4 separate regions of the Homo sapiens genome follow, and all the other regions are linked to region 1. The links are contacts of gene promoters, found by promoter capture Hi-C in blood cells and fetal thymus (Javierre and others, 2016). All regions are on one chromosome and are shown on one strand. Each heading gives the region's core, a stretch centred on a gene start or on the middle of the fragment in contact. The rest is flanking DNA. Distances are from core to core; before and after follow the strand shown.

Region 1 (2,685 bases), core at 112-2,611:
CGGCGCGGTGCCAGAGAACAGCAAGCGGATGTGGGCGTTGAGGAGGGCTGTGTGATTTACGGCAACTACTTAGGGGGAAAACAAAAAGGCACCCATCATTTGGCCACCTCCTCCTCCTCCTCCTCCATCCTACCTCCTCTTTCCATCTGGTTACTAAGGAGACCAAGTTGAAAAAACAAAAATCCAACCAGTCCAGAAATCAAAGGATGACTAGCTCACCAAATGCTTTCCCCTACTCAGGTCAGTTCTGAGAAGTAAAAGGCAAAAATCCTGAAATTCTAACCTTCCTGGGAAGGACTGACTCTCTTATAAAACAGAAGGCAAGTTCAGGACCTAAGCAATCAAGAAGTGCCTACTATGTGCCAGGCCCTTTACAAACATCCTCTCATTTAATTCTTACAACACTTAAAAAGTGTAAGTGAAGAAGGTACTTTGTAAGGAAGAGGAGGAAAAGTGGAATCCTTAACCCTAAAAGACTACAAATTAAGAAGCAGGGGCGTTAAGCATAAGTAATTAAACTGGTTAAGAGATTAGAGAGTAGGTCTCTACTGCGGAAGGAACTCCCACAGGAGTGGGAGTGAGGAAACTGATCAGGTGGTTTGGGAGCGGTTAGGGGAAAAGGTGAAGACAGCTCAAGGCCTGGCCGGTCCGTCGTGGTTGCGGGTGGGTGGTGGTGGAACTGATGAAGTCCAAGTTCAGGGCCGGGGAATTGGGGCTAATCAGATCGGGTGCACTTGGGTTTGGAGCCGACTGACCAGGTCCTGTCTGTACTATTACTACATTCGGATCAGACGTGATGGGGCACAGAGGGCCTACAGGTGAGAAACCTGCCAAGCTCAGAGAAGTGGAAGTTCATGGGAAAAGCATGCCTCCTTGTTAGGAATGGAACCGCCACAGAAGAGGTCGAGGATGGCGGAAGACAAACAGGACCAGGAGGCCAGGAGAAGCAAGACGAGAAAGCGGGGATGGTGTTAAGATGTCCCTGAGGGACAGGCAGAGGCTTGGAGAACAAGAAGAGAAAGAACAGGGATCAAGGGAAACGGAGAACAGCCCCTGCCTGGGAAGACTCGAGCGACGTAGGGGCAGGGTCGGAGCGGGGCCGGTCCCCGACCCCGGCCCCTTCAGCCGGTACCTACTTGAGGTCCCGGTTGACCGAATGTAAGTTGTCCTGGAAGTGCGCAATAAAGGCCTTCTCCCGGCCCTCCAGCGTCTCCTTGTTCCGCATCCCATCCTTCAGGCAGTCGAACACCCTGCTCACGCTGGAGCGCAGCGCCTGGATGGCACTAATGGCCTGGGAAAAGGCCTCCAGGTTCACACTGACATTTATCACGTCCGCCATGTTGCCGCCGCCACAGCAGCTCTCCAAAGCCGGCTTCGCAAGCAAAAAAGCCGCGCTCGCTGATGACGTATCTCCGAAGACCTCTGGGAAATGCAGTTCGCGCGGGGCTACCCAGAAAGCACTTTCGAAAAAGGGTTTCCCCTTGAGCTAAACTAATGCATGGGCAGGAAAGTGATTTTTCTCAACTTGGGGAAGTCAGGTTGCACTCCCGGTTTGCTTAATGGTGACAAAGAAATACAGAAAGTTCCCGCATTTCCCCAAACTTGCACTCTGGGGAATCATAGGGAAAAGAATTGCTCAGAGCAATAGTGTAAAAAGGAAAGGAACATAGCCCATTCAATAAAATGAGTCCATATTCATAAATAAAGCGGGGAGAAGGAAAGTTTCTTCTTTCCAATAGAATGCCAGCTCATAAATGCAGAAAGAGTGATGGAATTAGAAAATTGCCATTTGACAGCCATTAGAATAATTGATTCAGATAGAAATCGATGGATGCTAAAACTAGTGGGTGAAAGTGTCAGAAAAATAACAGGCTTTTTAGGTAATCTCAAAGTATCGTCCCCCAAGATGCTTATTAATTAAGAAGAGGAAAATAATGATCCAGAGATTCCACTTCTGGGCATATACCCAAAAGAAGCGAAAGCAGGGACTCAATACCTGTACACATGTTCATAACAGCATTATTCACCAAATAGCCAAAAGGCAGGGGAAACCCAAGTGTCCATAAACTGATGAATAAACAAAGTGTGATACTGGCATACAATGAAAAATTCTTCAGGCTTAAGCAAGAAAATTCTGACATATGCTACCTGGAGGAAACTTGAAGACATTATGCTAAGTGAAATAAGCCAGTCACAAAAAAACAAAATTCTGTGTGACTCCACTTATATGAGGTGTTTAGGGTAGTCAAAATGTTAGAGACAGAAAGTAGAATGGTGGCTGGTTTACAGTGAACACACACCTCTGAAAATAACATACATAGCATAGAGGTTGTGGAAGAAAGAGAAGGTTTGGGATTTAAATAAAACCAACAAAATGTTGGCCAAATCTGGCTTTATGGAAAAATTCAATGTCTCTTTGTCCTGTTGGCTATAGACAGGTTTCTGAAAATTTATTATCTTTTTACTAAAGGGAACCTGCCCAAGTCCTCATGTTCTTTCCTTAGAGGAGCTGGGGTTGCATAGCTTGGAGCAGAGAAGAGGAGAGCAGGAGGCAGATCATGATTGTGACCTTCAACTCACCTTCATGTCAACCCAAGACAAGAGTCCTCCTTGGTTAACTAGTGGCAATAACAATAACCAGTTGTAGGAAGGCTGTAGAGAGGAAGATTTCAGCATAATATTGCA
Region 2 (2,685 bases), core at 92-2,591, 960 kb before region 1:
CTAGTAGCTGAGATTACAGGCATGCACCACTATGCTTGGCTAATTTTTGTATTTTTAGAAGAGACGGGGTTTTGCCATGTTGGCCAGGCTAGTCTCAAACTCCTGACCTCAGGTAATCTGCCCTCCTCAGCCTCCCAAAATGTTAGGATTATAGGCGTGAGCCACCACACCCGGCCCAAATGGTCATATTAATATGTACCCTGTAGGGGAAATTAGCTTGTAGCAGAGTCAGGCAGAATCAGTACTCAGTAAGTGGCAACTGTGATGATGATGATGGTGGTGATGGTGATAATGGTGATAAATCTGTTGAAACTTTCCGAGCCTTAGTTTTCCTTTTTTTTTTTTTTCTTTTTGAGATCTCGCTCTGTCACCCAGGCTGGAGTGCAGTGACATGATCTCAGCTCACTGCAACCTCCGCCTCCTGAGCTCAAGTGATTCTCCTGCCTCAGCCTCCCGAGTAGCCAGGATTACAGGTGTGCGCCACCACACCCAACTAATTTTTGTATTTTTAGTAGAAATGGGGTTTCGCCATGTTGGCCAGGTTGGTCTCAAACTCCTGACTTCCAAGAGATCAGACCCCCTCGGCCTCCCAAAGTGCTAGGATTACAGGCGTGAGCCACCATGCCTGGCAGTTTCCCCATTTGTAAAGCACCTCCACTACCCCCACAGGCTTGTAAGCATAAAATAGAGTCAAAAATTGGCCCCAAAGGGAGGCAGGGTTTGCATCTTGATGCTATTACTTGCTACCAAAATGACCCTGGGCAAGTTACCTTAGGTCTGCGAGTCTCAGTTTCTTCATCTATAAAATAGGGGTGATAATCATGTCTTCCGTGATGTCCTGAGGGCTAGTGAAATGACACTTATGAAGATTTCAGCCTTGTGTGGCTGATGGCAAACACCTACTACGTGGTAGCACATTGTGGGTGCTGCCCCATTGAAGAGCGTTACAGCATTGCCCCAGGGCAGTCTCATTGTCATTTGTCACAGCTGAAAATAACACTCTGCCAGGTGCCCTGGCTCACGCCTTTAATCCCAGCGCTTCGGGAGGCTGAGGCCGGTGGATCACCTGAGGTCAGGAGTTCGAGACTAGCCTGGTCAACATGGTGAAACCCCGTTTCTACTAAAAATACAAAAATTAGCTGGGTGTTGTGGCTCACGCCTGTAATCCTGGCTACTCGGGAGGCTGAGGCAGGAGAATCACTTGAGCCCAGGAGGCGGAGGTTGCAGTGAGCAGAGATCGTGACATTGCCCTCCAGCCTGGGCGGCAAGAACAAAACTCTGTCTCAAAAGAAAAAAAAAAAAAAAAAGAAAACAGAAAATAACACTTACTTGGCTTTTATGAAATAAGATTCACTTTTTTAAAGTACGAATGTAAAATATACCTGTCTCATTTTACAAAGGAGCTTGTTGAGGCCCAAGGAGACTGAGTACCTGGCCCATGAGCCCACGGTCCAATCTGGCCAGATCTTCTAGCACCCCACTTCCAGGGAGAAACGCCAAGGATCAGAGAGGTCAAGTGTCTTGCTTGAGCCACCCGGCTGGGAAGTAGCAGGGCTGGCATTTGAATCTAGGCAGTTGCCCTAGAGGTTATACGCTGAGCCCCTACCCTCTACTCCCCAGACACCACTCTCAGAGCAGTGGGCAGGTTTTTGAAGATCTTTGCGCAGAGGCGTGGCCCAGCCTGGCTCAGCCTCCTCCAGGCAGTGTGGTTAAGGGAAGGGTATGGCCTGGAAGTCAGAAGCCTGGAGTCGTACCCAGCCTCTGCCCTGGACCGCCTGTGTGGTTCTGAGGAGTCATATCACCACTTTGCGCCTCCATTTTCTCCTCTGTAAAATGGGACTAGCAGCCCCTTCCTTGGAGCTGCTGTCTTGGGCTTCTGCAAGGATCCCACTGGAGAACAGATTTAAATTCTGTTGAGGACCCTGCTGACATGAGGCTGGGATGATCTTTCCCTGGATGAGGGAAGGATCCTAATCTTGTTTTTCTTTCTTTTTTTCTTTTCTCCATCTCCAAACCAGAGTCATGATGTTTGAAGGAAAAGCCAACGAGAGCAGCCCCAAGCCAGTTGGCCCCCCTCCAGAGAGAGACATTGCTAGCCTGCCCTGAGGACCCCGCCTGGACTCCCCAGCCTTCCCACCCCATACCTCCCTCCCGATCTTGCTGCCCTTCTTGACACACTGTGATCTCTCTCTCTCTCATTTGTTTGGTCATTGAGGGTTTGTTTGTGTTTTCATCAATGTCTTTGTAAAGCACAAATTATCTGCCTTAAAGGGGCTCTGGGTCGGGGAATCCTGAGCCTTGGGTCCCCTCCCTCTCTTCTTCCCTCCTTCCCCGCTCCCTGTGCAGAAGGGCTGACATCAAACCAAAAACTAGAGGGGGCAGGGCCAGGGCAGGGAGGCTTCCAGCCTGTGTTCCCCTCACTTGGAGGAACCAGCACTCTCCATCCTTTCAGAAAGTCTCCAAGCCAAGTTCAGGCTCACTGACCTGGCTCTGACGAGGACCCCAGGCCACTCTGAGAAGACCTTGGAGTAGGGACAAGGCTGCAGGGCCTCTTTCGGGTTTCCTTGGACAGTGCCATGGCTCCAGTGCTCTGGTGTCACCCAGGACACAGCCACTCGGGGCCCCGCTGCCCCAGCTGATCCCCACTCATTCCACACCTCTTCTCATCCTCAGTGATGTGAAGGT
Region 3 (2,685 bases), core at 61-2,560, 800 kb after region 1:
TCTTGGGCACAAATTTGCTGTGACACCCTGGGCAAAACCTTTCCCTCTGAGCCTCACTTTCCCCATAGCAGCTCAAGGGAGCTGGTTTTCTCAGTCCCTTCCAGCTCTAACATGAATAGAAATCTGTGGTCTGGAGCATTTTGCACGCGCTCAGCAAAACTGTGATGTCATGGAGCACACACCCACAGACTTTTCTGCTCACAGGAGGATTGTAGATGCTCTGTGGAGCACCTAAATCACAGCAGGGACAGTCTGTGAGGCGCCAAGAGAGAGTCCTCCCCACAGCCTCCATGTTACTGATCATGGCATTCCAGCAATTAACAGGGTCAGGGGGCAGTCCACTAGCCACCAGCCCTGCCCTGAGAATGCGCAAACCTGAGACCAAGGCTCCTGCCCCCAGCCCAGAGCAGGCAGACTTACATCTTCTCAAACTAGACAGTCTAGTATTGATTCTTCTCCCCGCTTAATCCATGGGAAGGAATTCCCAGACTTTCCCACCAGTTGCAGAGCAGCTTTACAATAATTTGATCCAAACTGATCATCTCCTGGTTTTATATCCTGTGGCATATCCCTTGATCCCAGGTTTTGCTGACACCACAGCAAGGGATTGGAGGGCGTGTGTGTACACGCGTGCGTGTGTGTGTGTATGCATGTACCTGTATGTGTGTGCACATGCATGTGTGTGCGTGTGTGTGTGCGCGCGTGTGTGTAGATACCCACATCTGGAGAAACAGAACCAGAGAAACTCTGTCCACAGCTGAGGGAAGAAGTCACATTTCCTGGCAAAGAATGTGTTCATGGAGGGTAAATTTCGAGGTCAGGCTCAGCTCTGTCATGGACAGCCTGGGGGCTCTGGACAAGTGTGCAGCCTCCCAGGGCCTCGCTTTCTTCTGTGGGGAGGCACTCACAAGGCGCTCCAGTGAGAGGGGCCATGGGTATCCCTCTCCCCTGACAGTCCTTCCCTCCGGAGCTGGATCCGAGCATTGGGTCCCAGGACCTCATCACTATCCTCTGTCTCCCCATAGATTCCTCTTCTCCTGTAAATGACCACAGAGGAAGACAATGAATGAGGTGAAAGAATCCCTTCGCAGCATCGAGCAGAAGTACAAGCTCTTCCAGCAGCAGCAGCTCACCTTCACCGCCGCTCTGGAGCACTGCAGGGAGAACGCCCACGACAAGATCCGGCCCATCTCCAGCATTGGACAGGTGGGGCTCCCGACCCCCACCCCGGCCGAGGGGCAACAAGCCCAGTCCCCTCTCACAAAAGATGAAACCACTGGGGCCCAGAGAGGGGAAGGACGTTTGCGCCAGAATTAGGACCCGGACCCAGAACCTAAATGATGTAATGAGTCCTTCATTCGTTTCTCTACCAAATATGTAAGTGAATAACAACAAGTGAATAAAGAGGCAGGTTTAAAACTCAGCCGGCCAGGGCTTAAGTCCTAGCTCTACCATGTGCCACTGCTGTGATCTCAGGCCAATGACTTCACCTTTCTGTGCCTCAGTGTCCTCATCTGTGACGCAGGTTCAGTGGTCACCCATAGAAAACCAGGGATTTACTGGTGACCAGAGGGATCCTGTCCTTCCCATCAGATTCCACTGGGGGTTGAGGAACTGTGGGATGCCAAGCACACCGCCAGGTGCTTTCGCAGATGTTTTTATTTAACCTGCATCTCCTCCAGGGTTAGCTGCTGTCCAGGTTTGCTGTGCAGGACTTGGAGGCCTCAAGACCAAATGATCCTTCCAGGATGTTAGGGGCTGGAGCTGCAGTGCAGTTAGGAACACACACAGGCCGGCCCTTCACAGCTTGGAGGGAGTCAGCTTGTGGAAGGGTAACTGCCCCAAGATGGGTGGGAACAGGCGCAGGGCTCAGAACTGCAGAGGAGAAACAGGCTCGGGAGGAACAAGCAACCCTTGCTGGCAGCATCCTTTAAAAACATTTTTTTCTGGCCAGGCGTGGTGGCTCATGCCTGTAATCCCAGCACTTTGGGAGGCCGAGGCAGGTGGATCATGAGGTCAGGAGTTTGAGACCAGCCTGACCAACATGGTGAAACCCTGTCTCTACTAAAAATACAAAAATAGCTGGGCGTGGTGGTGCGCATCTGTAATCCCAGCTACTCGGGAGGCTGAGGCAGGAGAATTGCTTGAATCTGGGAGGTGGAGGTTGCAGTGAGCCGATATTGCGCCACTGTACTCCAGCCTGGGCGACAGAGTGAGACTCCGTCTCAAAAACAAAACAAAACAAAACAAAAACAAAAACAAAAAAATGAAAAAAAACACTTTTTTTTTCTAATTTTGGTAAAATGTTTCCTCAATTTTTTAACTCAAAAAAATGTTAAATATAGAGGCCAGACACAGCGGCTCATGCCGGTAATCCCAGCACTTTGAGAGGCCGAGGTGAGTGGATCACCTGAGGCCAGGAGTGGAGACCAGCCTGGCCAACATGGTGAAACCCCATCTTTACTAAAAATCCCAAAATTAGCCAGTTGTGGTGGTACGCGCCTGTAGTCCCAGTGACTCGGGAGGCTGAGGCATGAGAATCACATGAACCCTGGAGGCAGAAGCTGCAGTGAGCCGAGATCGCACCACTGCACTCCAGCCTGGGTGACACAGCAAGACCCTGTCTCAAAAAAAAAAAAAAAAAAAAAAAGTTAAATGTACAGAAAAGGAGCACCCATATAACCC
Region 4 (2,685 bases), core at 49-2,548, 600 kb after region 1:
ACATTAATTATCAGCTGTTTTATAAGATTGTATGATATAAAGGTGGACAGTATAAATCTGAAAAGCAATGAAATAGTGATTTAAGAATGTCAGAATTGTTTTTCCCATTGGACTACTGATTTAGTGACTCATCTAGTGAGACATTTGTGTATAGTTCCAAATTCTGATAATATTTGTGTACCGAATTGTATTGTGCATCAATTGTTAGGAGCCTTAGAAAGTATTAACTTCATCTGCTACATTAAGTTAAATAACTGTTGCCTGTCTTTGGACTCTATTACCTGTCCTCAAGAAGCTTACTGTCTAAAAGCTTCAAGTGAATTTTTGTCAGGTGCTTACAAAATGCCTAACAGTTAGTATTAAAAGTATTTGCCATTAAAAGTGATGGTGAAAACCGCAATTACTTTTGCACCAACCTAATAGTGGTCAACTGGAAACTGGATGGTGTACAATTAAATGATTGGCTGCGGGCAGGCCTCTGGGAGCTGGACTTTTTAAGTATACTCCTTGGGCATCTGAATACTTGATTTGTTAACAGTTTTGTGATAGGGAGAGTTGGAGGGAGGTTCAGTAGTCTAGTTGAAACATATGTCAGAAATTGCTACACAAAACCCTAAGACTTTTTCCTACCAGTCAAGATCTGTACTGCTCTCCATCCTGTCAAGAATTCTTCCCACAATGAGTAGGACCAAGGGTTGCTTAAGCTTCCTTTATTTCATCCCGTGCTGCTGCTTTGGGTTACCAATCCTGTGAGTTTACTTCTACAGTAGCTTTTATTTGTAGCAAATTTAACCTATTCTAAGGAGTATTGCTTAGTTCACAGTATTAAAGGATTTGATGAACAATTTTATATCTACCTTTCATTTGGTACACAACTTTATGTCTACCTTGCATTTTTGCATACTTTTATTAGCATTAAATATCTTATTAACATTTACTTAAGGCTGAGTGCTGTGGCTCACACCTGTAATCCCAACACTTTGGAAGGCCAAGGCCGGAGGATCGCTTGAGCCCAGGAGTTAAAGACCAGCCTGGGCAACAGAGAGAGACCGCATCTCTACAAAAAATTTTAAAAATTAGCCAGGCATGGTGGTGTGCACCTGTGGTCCTAGCTACTCAGGAGGCTGAGGTGAAAGGATCACTTGACCCCGGGAGGTTGAGGCGGCAGTGAGCTGTAGTCACGCCAGCTGCACTGCAGCCAGGGTGACAGAGAGGAATCTCAAAAGTTTTTTTTTTAACTTAGTCCTCAGAGTATATTAACAATTATCATAGGTAACTTTATTGAGCGCTTAATATATGCTTTGATATATTGACTTATTTAACCTTCCTAACTTTCTGGGACATGTATTAGTCTCATTTATAAATGAGGAAATTAAGGTCAGAAGGTTTAAGCAATTTGCGCACACAGAGCTGGTATGTAGCAGAGCCAGCATTTGAACCCAGGTAGTCTGGCGTCATAGCACAGATTTTCAGTTATTATGTTGTGCTTCATTATGTCATCTCACAAATTTCATCTGCCTGTAGAAAGCACCGGGCTTTGATTAGCATTGTTTTATTTCCAAGCCAGCCACCTACACCTCATTTAATTGGCATTTTCAGTCTATGATTCTCCAGCAAGTTTCATAGTGTATCCAAGAGACTACTTTAAAATGCCTTCCTAAAATCAAGATACACTGCCTAAAACACCATTCCCAAAGTATTCCACATACTTTTGGATAATAAAGGGTAATAACTGCCTCCCTCACCTCCAAAAAAAAGGCTCTGTTGTTTAAAAAGGCAAAAAAGTTTGGCTTCCTGTGGCTCAGTAGGTCTTTATAGTAGTTCCCTGGCCGAGGCATTTAGTGTCCTCGTGTCACTTTTCAAGGGAGAACGACATATAAATATAGTATTTCCAAAGCTTGTTTGGCCATAGAACTATTTTTCAAGGGACAATTAAAGGGAGTAGTGTACTGTGAAACACACTGTAGGAAAAGTTAGTTCTCTATTTTGTGGACAATTTTCTATTTACATTTCATTTTATTTGCTTATCTATTATGTCATCTAGCAATTTTAGCAGAAAAGAGAATAAGAATAGACTATTCCAGTTACCCTTTTTTTTTTTTTTTTTTTTTGAGATGGAGTTTTGCTCTGTTGCCCAGGCTGGAGTGCAGTGGTGCCATCTTGGCTCACTGCAGGCTCCACCTCCCGGGTTCATGCCATTCTCCTTCCTCAGCCTCCTGAGTCGCTGGGACTACAGGCACCCACCACCATGCCCGGCTAATTTTTTTGTATTTTTAGTAGAGACGGAGTTTCACCGTGTTAGCCAGGATGGTCTCGATCTCCTGACCTCATGATCCGCCCACCTCAGCCTCCCAAAGTGCTGGGATTACAGGCGTGAGCCACCACGCCCAGCCATCCTTTGCTTGTTTCTAATCATCACTCCTGTCTGCACAAACTATTCATTTGTTAATACATTGAGGAATTTTCTGTTAGGCTTAATGGTCTGTAGTTTTTGTTATTTATGTACCATTTGGGGGATTTTTTTTTTTTTTTTTGCAAAGCCTGGCTCCATCACCCAGGCTGGAGTGCAGTGGCGCAATCTCGGCTCACTTCAACCTCTGCCTCCCAGATTCAAGCAGTTCTCCTGCCTCAGCCTCCCAAGTAGCTGGGGTTATGGGTGCCCACCACCACGCCTGGCTAATTTTT

The links. Contacts are between HindIII fragments. The CHiCAGO score rates a contact against its expected background, and 5 or more counts as called.
Region 2: a fragment that was not itself captured here is called in contact with the fragment with the promoter of MED27 in region 1 in 1 of 17 cell types (non-activated CD4 T cells); the score reaches 5.2 in non-activated CD4 T cells.
Region 3: a contact is called between a fragment that was not itself captured here and the fragment with the promoter of MED27 in region 1, in 1 of 17 cell types (activated CD4 T cells). The highest score is 5.0, in activated CD4 T cells.
Region 4: a fragment that was not itself captured here is called in contact with the fragment with the promoter of MED27 in region 1 in 2 of 17 cell types (total B cells and naive CD8 T cells); the score reaches 5.7 in total B cells.

Annotation. Positions count from the first base shown.
Region 1 is chr9:132,078,506-132,081,190 of GRCh38, forward strand. MED27 (mediator complex subunit 27) reads right to left here and starts at 1,362. Exons shown (of 8, transcript NM_004269.4): 1 at 1,137-1,362. The coding sequence starts at 1,339. RefSeq lists an enhancer at 1,259-1,538. The HindIII fragment of the contact is 6,112 bases long and covers 1-2,685 here.
Region 2 is chr9:131,118,217-131,120,901 of GRCh38, forward strand. It overlaps AIF1L (allograft inflammatory factor 1 like), which reads left to right. Exons shown (of 6, transcript NM_031426.4): 6 at 2,019-2,685. The coding sequence ends at 2,106. Among named protein-coding and RNA genes, the nearest start is that of NUP214, 6.0 kb to the right of the region's middle. The HindIII fragment of the contact is 3,545 bases long and covers 1-2,685 here.
Region 3 is chr9:132,882,886-132,885,570 of GRCh38, forward strand. SPACA9 (sperm acrosome associated 9) reads left to right here. Exons shown (of 4, transcript NM_001316897.2): 2 at 1,026-1,206. The coding sequence starts at 1,063. Among named protein-coding and RNA genes, the nearest start is that of SPACA9, 5.3 kb to the left of the region's middle. The HindIII fragment of the contact is 3,076 bases long and covers 1-2,685 here.
Region 4 is chr9:132,673,806-132,676,490 of GRCh38, forward strand. All of the region lies in intron 1 of GTF3C4 (general transcription factor IIIC subunit 4), which reads left to right. Among named protein-coding and RNA genes, the nearest start is that of GTF3C4, 4.7 kb to the left of the region's middle. The HindIII fragment of the contact is 1,193 bases long and covers 703-1,895 here.